Regions from separate parts of the Homo sapiens genome. Here all the other regions are linked to region 1. Evidence: promoter capture Hi-C in 16 types of primary human blood cells and fetal thymus (Javierre and others, 2016). All regions are on one chromosome and are shown on one strand. Each heading gives the region's core, a stretch centred on a gene start or on the middle of the fragment in contact. The rest is flanking DNA. Distances are from core to core; before and after follow the strand shown.

Evidence for each region. The method cuts DNA at HindIII sites, captures the fragments that hold promoters and counts their contacts. A CHiCAGO score of 5 or more calls a contact.
Region 2: the fragment with the promoter of RABGGTB here is called in contact with the fragment with the promoter of SRSF11 in region 1 in 9 of 17 cell types (total CD4 T cells, naive CD4 T cells, non-activated CD4 T cells and 6 more); the score reaches 19.0 in total CD4 T cells.
Region 3: a fragment that was not itself captured here is called in contact with the fragment with the promoter of SRSF11 in region 1 in 1 of 17 cell types (total CD8 T cells); the score reaches 5.2 in total CD8 T cells.

Annotation. Positions count from the first base shown.
Region 1 is chr1:70,220,004-70,222,703 of GRCh38, reverse strand. SRSF11 (serine and arginine rich splicing factor 11) reads right to left here and starts at 1,324. Exons shown (of 12, transcript NM_001350605.2): 1 at 865-1,324. The coding sequence starts at 1,067. RefSeq lists a silencer at 940-989 and an enhancer at 885-1,430. The HindIII fragment of the contact is 2,724 bases long and covers 1-2,278 here.
Region 2 is chr1:75,784,931-75,787,630 of GRCh38, reverse strand. RABGGTB (Rab geranylgeranyltransferase subunit beta) reads right to left here and starts at 1,375. Exons shown (of 9, transcript NM_004582.4): 1 at 1,357-1,375; 2 at 27-134. The coding sequence starts at 1,359. SNORD45C (small nucleolar RNA, C/D box 45C) reads right to left here and starts at 559; the gene lies at 482-559. RefSeq lists a silencer at 1,284-1,343 and enhancers at 1,404-1,633, 2,574-2,700. The HindIII fragment of the contact is 7,492 bases long and covers 645-2,700 here.
Region 3 is chr1:63,529,362-63,532,061 of GRCh38, reverse strand. It overlaps EFCAB7 (EF-hand calcium binding domain 7), which reads right to left. Exons shown (of 14, transcript NM_032437.4): 3 at 31-242. It also overlaps the pseudogene RN7SL488P. Among named protein-coding and RNA genes, the nearest start is that of EFCAB7, 7.2 kb to the right of the region's middle. The HindIII fragment of the contact is 200 bases long and covers 1,291-1,490 here.

The DNA.
Region 1 (2,700 bases), core at 75-2,574:
TTGAATTGTCACTTCTCCACCAATAAGTCTTCCAAAAAGCACAAGACTATTATTATTATTCCAATTGTCTGTTTTAGTAGTACACTTTATCTTACTTCTTAGCTTCTTTGAACTATTTTTTCTTTACAATTCATCCACTTAATATTCTTGCGATAGAAATAATTTTCAAAATAAAAGTGAGACAAAAAGGATAAAAAGTCATACACTCTAATTCAAATTTCAACATTTATAAAAATCCTTCTCAAGAACAACTGTGAAATATCACAAATCTGTATATTATTCAAACAAAGGAAAATCTCTGGTTTATAACCCGTTTTTTGACATTATACAAATTAAGTAATCAGGCTCACACTAAACTAAGCGTCTGTCAAAAAGAATATGATCTTTGAATTATATTGCTGGGCCAGAACCACATAACAGCAATAACAATAAGTGAACAACCTACAAAGTTTAACACCAAATTAACACAGGCATGAATAATTTTGTTACCTTTCTTCCAAGAACGCAAAGAACAAATACTCAGTTTTTTAAAAAAGGGATTTAACCTATATACGACGTACAGACTGCGGTTAGTCTTGCGTTAAGTCCCCAAAGCCAAACGACCACGTTGGCACAATTTAAGGCGGAAAAAAAAAATTTCCCGAGAATAACAGCCAGTGTTTCCTAATTCCAAAAAGCCCTGGCCCTGCCTCTCTGCATTTTTTTGTAGGCCTGGAACACAACCGTCTTAAGTAAATCCACCAGCCACCAGCCACTCAAGCAGCCTGGCCCGGGGAAGCAGCGACAGGGGCCTAAGGAAATTGTGTGTGTTAGGCCCAGGCTGAGGCGGCGTTAGCAGGAACAGTGATGGTGGACGATACTCACTCCGGCGGGAAGAGGCGCAGTTCGTCGATCTTGCCTAGGAAACCGAAGAGAGTCCGCATCTGCTCAGAGCTAGCGCTCGGGGAGACATTAGTCACCTGGATTACCTCGGTGCCGCCGCCTCCGCCGCCACCACCACCTCCGCCACCGGGCCCGCCGCTGGGGCCCGGACCTGCAGTGCTGGGGACGACGGTAGTGTTGCTCATGGCGCTGCTCGGGTTCTCGCTCCTGCTTTAACACATCAAACACACAACAAACAGTGAGAAGGAGGGGGAAGAGGAACCGGATTGCGGGAGAGAGGAGGGTGTCCGATGCTACAGCCTCTGCTACTGCTGCCGATGCCGCCGCCGCCGCCGCCGTTTCTCCGCCCCGCCGCACGCCGCGGGGGAGGGGATGAGAGCGCGCGAGCTCGAGACCACGAGAAAACAAACGGCCGCCCCACCTCGCCTCCAACCACGACACTAGCGGGCCCGAGCTCCCACAATGCTTTGCGGCGCAGGGCGCGTCAGCGTCGGCTCCACCCCGCGCAGGCCCAGCAGCCGTCGCCTGCAGCCCGAGAAATGAGAGGCACCGGGGTCTAGAGAAAGGTGTTATCCACCTTCGTCTCTCGTTTTATTCTTCTTTTTCTTCTCTCTTTTTTTTTTGGAAGAGCGAAGAGGCACGTATAAACTTTTTTTTTAAAAAAAGCATTCATCCTCCTGCAAAAGTCACTTCAGCAACTCTTCTTATTAAATACTGCTCACGATGTCTTTATATACTGATAATCATCTACAGAGCTATCCGATTACTAATGATATTTAAACCCAAGCTAAGATGCCACCCCACCACCACCAGTATAAAATGTCCCGAAATTTTCAATGTACATGAATTTTGGTAACATTAAATCTGTAACTAATTTGTTTTGTCACTAAAACTTTCAGAAAAGATATATTTTAATATTACACTTATTAATAAGCGTTTTGTACATTCATTCACAATGGATGACTTTTTTTTTTGAGACAGAGTCGCCCTGTCGCCCAGGCTGGAGTGCAGTGGCACCATCTTGGCTCGCTGCAACCTCCACTTCCCCTGTTCAAGCCATTCTCCTACCTAGGCCTCGGGAGTAGCTGGGATTACAGGCGCCTGCCACGACGCCAGGCTAAGTTTTGTATTTTTAGTAGACATGGGGTTTCACCATGTTGGCCAGGCTGGTCTCCAACTCCTGACCTCTGGTGATCCACCCGCCTTGGCCTCCCAAAGTTCTGGGATTACAGGCGCGTGAGCCACTGCACCCAGCCAATTCCACAATAGCTGACTTTGGAAACACAGTTTATAGTACTTAAATATATTCAAGTATATATTTCTAAAGAAAATACTGCAATTTCTCAAGAAAAACTTGTTTCACATACATATTCTTGCTTAAAATAATTTTGAAGCTTTTGACTATTAAAAAAATCCTTGCTTTTGTTTTCAACCTCATCTGAACTATTCTCTCAACTGCATCCAGTGTGTAGTCCAGTGACTTGTAGTGCCCCAAACATGACAAAAACCATAATGTCTCTGTGCCGATACACAAGTTATTAATAACATCACTCATCTTATCTGTCATCTTCTGTAGAGCATTCCTTCCCTCACTGCTATGACTTCTGCAAGCTGTTAGGGCTTCCTCTTTTCTGCTAAGTAACAGAAGATACATGTATTTATTATTGACATGTATCACTCAAAGTTGTGAGCTTCCTGGGTCAGTCCAGAACCTGGCACAATGTCTGTCACACAGTCAGTCCCAATGAATGTGCTGGACACACGCACAAATATACCTTAATGACAATGGCATTTAAGACAGTTCACTAAATAATTCAC
Region 2 (2,700 bases), core at 126-2,625, 5.6 Mb before region 1:
TTCCAACATAAAAAAATTATACATACATAATCATCTTTCTTTGAGCCATAGGATGCGATATAATCTGCATGTTTCTCCAATAACAAAGTGTCCGGTGCATCTGACTTGATAATAACATCCTTCTGTGGAGTGCCCTTTCAAAATAAAGTGGTAATCTCATCAATGTTTACCTCTACAACGTTCTTCTGCCCCACAGCATAGATTCAACATACATCTCAATTTTCACTTGATTTCATCTTGTAATAGGAAAACGTTCCATTTAAAAATTGTAACTAACTAGGGAGGCTGAGGTAGAAGATCGCTTGAGCCAGGGAAATTAAGGCTGCAGTGAACTGAGGTTGTGTCACTGCACTCCATCCTGGGCGACCGGAGACCGACTCAAAAACAAAACCAAAACAACAACAACAACAACAAATTGTATCCAACAAAAAAGAACTTAAATCATTCAGGCTTCGTCTTAGTCACGATTCAGGTAATTTTCAGGTCTCAGAGTAATTCTAGAGCTAAAGTAGTAATAATCAACTTTAGATTCAGAATACATGCCAACTCATCATTGACCCAAAAAATTACCACCAGCATTTCTTGTTGTTCACTTTTCATTCAAAAAGATAAGTAAAAAATAAACACCATAGAATATCAAAGCTTATCATTTCAGGACAACTTACGGTTTACATGTGGCAGAAAGCATATTTTTAAAAAATAAAAAAATCTAACCCTTAACTTGCAAGCGAATTCTTGCTTAATCAAATGCAGGTTTCAAAGCACCTTCTAAGTACCCCAAAAGTTGTTCAAATGTATTAAATAAGCAGTTCCTTTAGCTCCATCTTCTCCACCTTTAATCCGAGTCTCTGTATTTGCAGAAGTCCCCATGTGATGCGGCTCTAGTTCTTTTCGTATCTATATCTTCCTCATTGAGAGTACACTGCAGTCACTATAACAGGTCATGAAGATTACCGGAAGTGATTAAGTACCGAATTTTCTTCTGATCCCATTAAAAATCTTAAAGCGAGACCACATCACTAACGATTTTAAAGAAATCTTTGACACCCCCTCTCCAAGAAAAAAAAAAGCCACCAATCAGCCACAGCTTTTTAGAGGGGTTCAGAAATCGGGCTGCTCAACTCTTAACAGGCCCTCCCTACAGAAGAAGGCCTGGATAAAATTAGAAGCGGCATTGCCCGCGAGGTCTGCAGAAAACGCTGAGTAATATTTCACACTCAAAAAACCTTCCAAGGCCTGTGTCCTAACCATTCTCCAGCACCAGGAAACCAATCCTAAGGTGACCAGTGTGCTTAACCCTACTCCACCCTGTCTGCTACCAACCCATCCGGACAGCAGCGCTAAACTCACACTTACCATGTCTAACAGGGAAAGGAGAGAGCAGGGTCAGTTCCTGGGTAGACTTAGGAGCCGGGCGCCTGCGCAGATGCGCCTCTCAGGCCCCCATCGCGCTCCGATATAGCTGACCACACTTTCGCCTGCAAGGCAGAGCAGTTCCACGGCTGCCGTAGGACCCCACTGATCGCTCATAGGTGTCCTCACTGCCTGCGTCCAAAGTCCTGCGACCATATGCTTGTCCCATAGTCACTCCGATTTGTCTAGAAACAGTTTTAAATAATATTTAAATATCTGAGTTGCTTTTAAGAAATCATTTGTTCTAGCTGGACGCGGTGGCTTACGCCTGTAATCCCAGCACTTTGGGAAGCCGGACAGCAGGATTGCTTGATCCTAGGAGTGTAACCACCCAATATTGTGGTTCACTTTGCCTGCTGCTGACCGATAGCCCATTTATCAAGACAGGGGACTTGCAATGGAGTCTCCCCAAGCAGTATTCAGAGTTTTTAAAGATAATTCGGCGATTAGGGGCTTGGGAAGTAGGGAGTGCTGATGGGTCAGGTTGGAGATGGACTCATAGTGGGTAGACGTGAGTTTTTCTTGCTGTTTTCTGTTCCTGGGTAGGATGGCAGAACTGGTTGAGCCAAATTACCAATCTGGGTGGTTTCAACTGATCCATGGAGAGCAGGGTCTGCAAAATATCTCAAGAACTTATCTTAGGTTTTACAATAGTGATGTTATCCCCAGGAGCAATTTGGGGAGGTTCAGAAACTTGGAGCCAGAGGCTGCATGACCTCTAAACTGTAATTTCTAATCTTGTAGCTAATCTGTTGGTTCTGCAAAGGCAGACTGGTCCCCAGGCAAAAAAGCGGTCTTTTTGGGAAAGGGATATTATCAATTTTGTTTCAGAGTCAAACCATAAACTGAATTCCTCCCTAAATTGGTTCAGCCTAGGCTCAGGAATGAAGAAGGACAGCTTAAAAGTTAGAAGCGGCCGGTGGCTCACGCCTGTAATCCCAGCACTTTGGGAGGCCAAGGCGGGCGGATCACGAGGTCAGGGGATCGAGACCATCCTGGCTAAAACCCCGTCTCTACTACAAATACAAAAAATTAGCCGGGCGTGGGGGTGGGCGCCTGTAGTCCCATCTACTCCTGAGGTTGAGGCAGGAGAATGGCTTAAACCCGGGAGGCGGAGCTTGCAGTGAGCAGAGATCACGCCACTGCACTCCACCCTGGGCGACAGAGCGAGACTAGTCTCAAAAACAAAAGTTAGAAGCAAGATGGAATCCGTTAGGTCTGATTTCTTTCACTGCCATAATTTCCTCAGTTATAATTTTGCAAAGGCGGTTCCAGGAGATCCAGACC
Region 3 (2,700 bases), core at 141-2,640, 6.7 Mb after region 1:
CACATTACAAAACAGTTTTACAGATCTTACCTTTGTTAGAAATTTATAAAGGTCAGTGTGTAAAATACAGCCATCATCATTTACATCTAATTGCTTAAATGATTTTAGTAGTTCTGCTTTTGAAGTAGGTTTTTCCTTCCTTAAAATTATACAAAAATCATCAAAATTCAGTTTGGCAGTTTGAGGAGTCCAATACTTATTAATGGTCTTTTGGGATGGATTTCTTCCTGCATGCTGAAGAGCTGCCCAACAAGACAAGTATTATTTGTGATTGTAACACCTGGAATTTGTACTTAAGCGCATTTTTTTCTTCAAATCATTATGTATTATGATATTTACAAAACACTATACATATACCAGTACATTACTTTGGTGTTGACTTATCTAGTGATACCAAGATAGGCCTGACTTTGAAAAACAAAAATATTTATGCCACCACCTAAACATTCTTTAATTATTAATACCAGAATTAAATAGATTTTCCTTATTCTGACAGTTTGGTTCTCAACCTACATGGTTTAAATAACTAACAATATCTGATTACTTAAGAGCTTCTAAAAGCTTCTAAAGGAAATACAAGATTAAAAACAACCATCCACTTAATTGTTTGGGGGACAAAAGGATAACACAAAAAGTATAAATTAGTACTTTTTCTGGCTAAATAAATACCTTAATGACTATTCAGCCATAAAGAAGGAGGAAATCCTGTCATCTGCAACAACATGGATGAACCTGGAGGACAACATGTTAAGTGAAATAAGCTAGACGCTGAAGACAAATACAGCGTATCTCACTTGTGTGGAATCTTAAAAAAAAAGTTAATATCCTAGAAGTAGAGAATAGATCAGTGGTTACCAGAGACTGGGAAGGGGAACTTAAGTACTATCTAAGTACTCTGGGGGTAGGGGAGGATGGGGAGAGGTTGGTCAATGGGTACAAAGTTACAATCAGATAGTGGGAAATAGGTTCTGCTATTCTATTGCACAGTATGGTGACTATAGTTAGCATTAAGGTACTGTATATTACAAAACAGCTAGAAGAGAGGCTTTTGAATGGTCTCACCACAAAGAAAAGATAAATGCATGCAGCGACGGATATACTAACTACCTTGATTTGATCATTATACAACATATAAATGTATTGAAATGTCAAATTGTACCCCATAAATACATACAATGTGTGAATTTAAAAAACAAATATCTTAATGAAATGAGAAAATCATTCATTTAAGAATACCAATGTCAATAAGGCACGATATCTAAAATGTTCATCTTTGCTAGGTACTAAGCTTTCAAAAACATTAATCATGTTCCAAATGTCAAATATATGCACATAAAGTATCCCTTTGCAGGCATGGTCCTGCTAAAAATCAAGAATGTCAATATACTGTGAGAGAAGATTATTATAGAGATGCTATGGTCAAACTACTCTTCATTTTTAACCATATCCTTCTATCTATGAAGAGCAAAGAAGTACATGTGAGAAAAGCTTTGTATATTTATGTATGTCATATCACTCTAAAATAAAATGGTTAAAGCAACTGCAGATATTTTGAACAGTTGAATAGAAGTAACTTGGTAATTTGCAAATAAATCTCTGCATACTGAAATATAACATTTTCTAAAATGAACCAATGATAAATTTCCTAAGCACCACAGAAGGAATTAACATAATTTTAAAAGATACAATTGTCCTGAATTGTACTGCCAAATTCTATTACAAAATCTTATATTGGATAGTTCCAACTATCTTTATAGAAATTCACAAGATCTGCGCATCACCAATCAGCATCAAAAAATGATAATCTGGATATTGTACAATTTAATGTAATAAGGACCAGTAAGTATAAAACAATTTCACTAAAGAAATATCCTCATGGAAATAGAAACCAGATCAGGGTAATAAATACAGATATAAGTGAGTCAGTTATATTGAACATTATTGTGCACAAGTATAGTATAGGGTGATTTTTGTTCATCAATACAAACTTTTTAGTTCCAAAGAAATTTTATATTCTAGACTGGCGTGGTGGCTCACACCTGTAATTTGGGTTTACAATTATACTTTGGGTGGCCGAGGTGGGCAGGTCACCTGAGGTCAGGAGTTCAAGACCAGCCTGGCCAACATGGTGAAACCCTGTCTCTACTAAAAATACAAAAATTAGCCGGGCCTGGTGGCCTGCGCCTGTAATCCCAGCTACTTGGGAGGCTGAGGCAGGAGAATCGCTTGAACCTGGGAGGCGGAGACTGCAGTAAGCCGAGATTGAGCCACTGTGCTCCAGCCTGGGTGACAGAGGAAGACTGCATCTCAAAAAAAGAAATTTTATTTTATTATTATTATTATTTTTTGAGATGGAGTTTGGCTCTTGTTGCCCAGGCTGGAGTGCAATGGTGTAATCTCGGCTCACTGCAACCTCTGCCTCCCGGGTTCAAGTGATTCTCCTGCCTCAGCCTCCCGAGTAACTGGGATTACAGGCATGCACCACCACCCCCAGCTAATTTTGTATTTTTAGTAGAGACGTGGTTTCTCCACGTTGGTCAGGCTGGTCTCAAACTCCTGACCTCAGGTGATCCGCACGTCTCGGCCTCCCAAAGTGCTGGGATTATAGGCATGAGCCACCGCGCCTGGCAAGAAATTTTATAATCTAAATAGGAAGTCTACATCTGACTGTAAAATTGCTATCTATGGCCATAACTCATG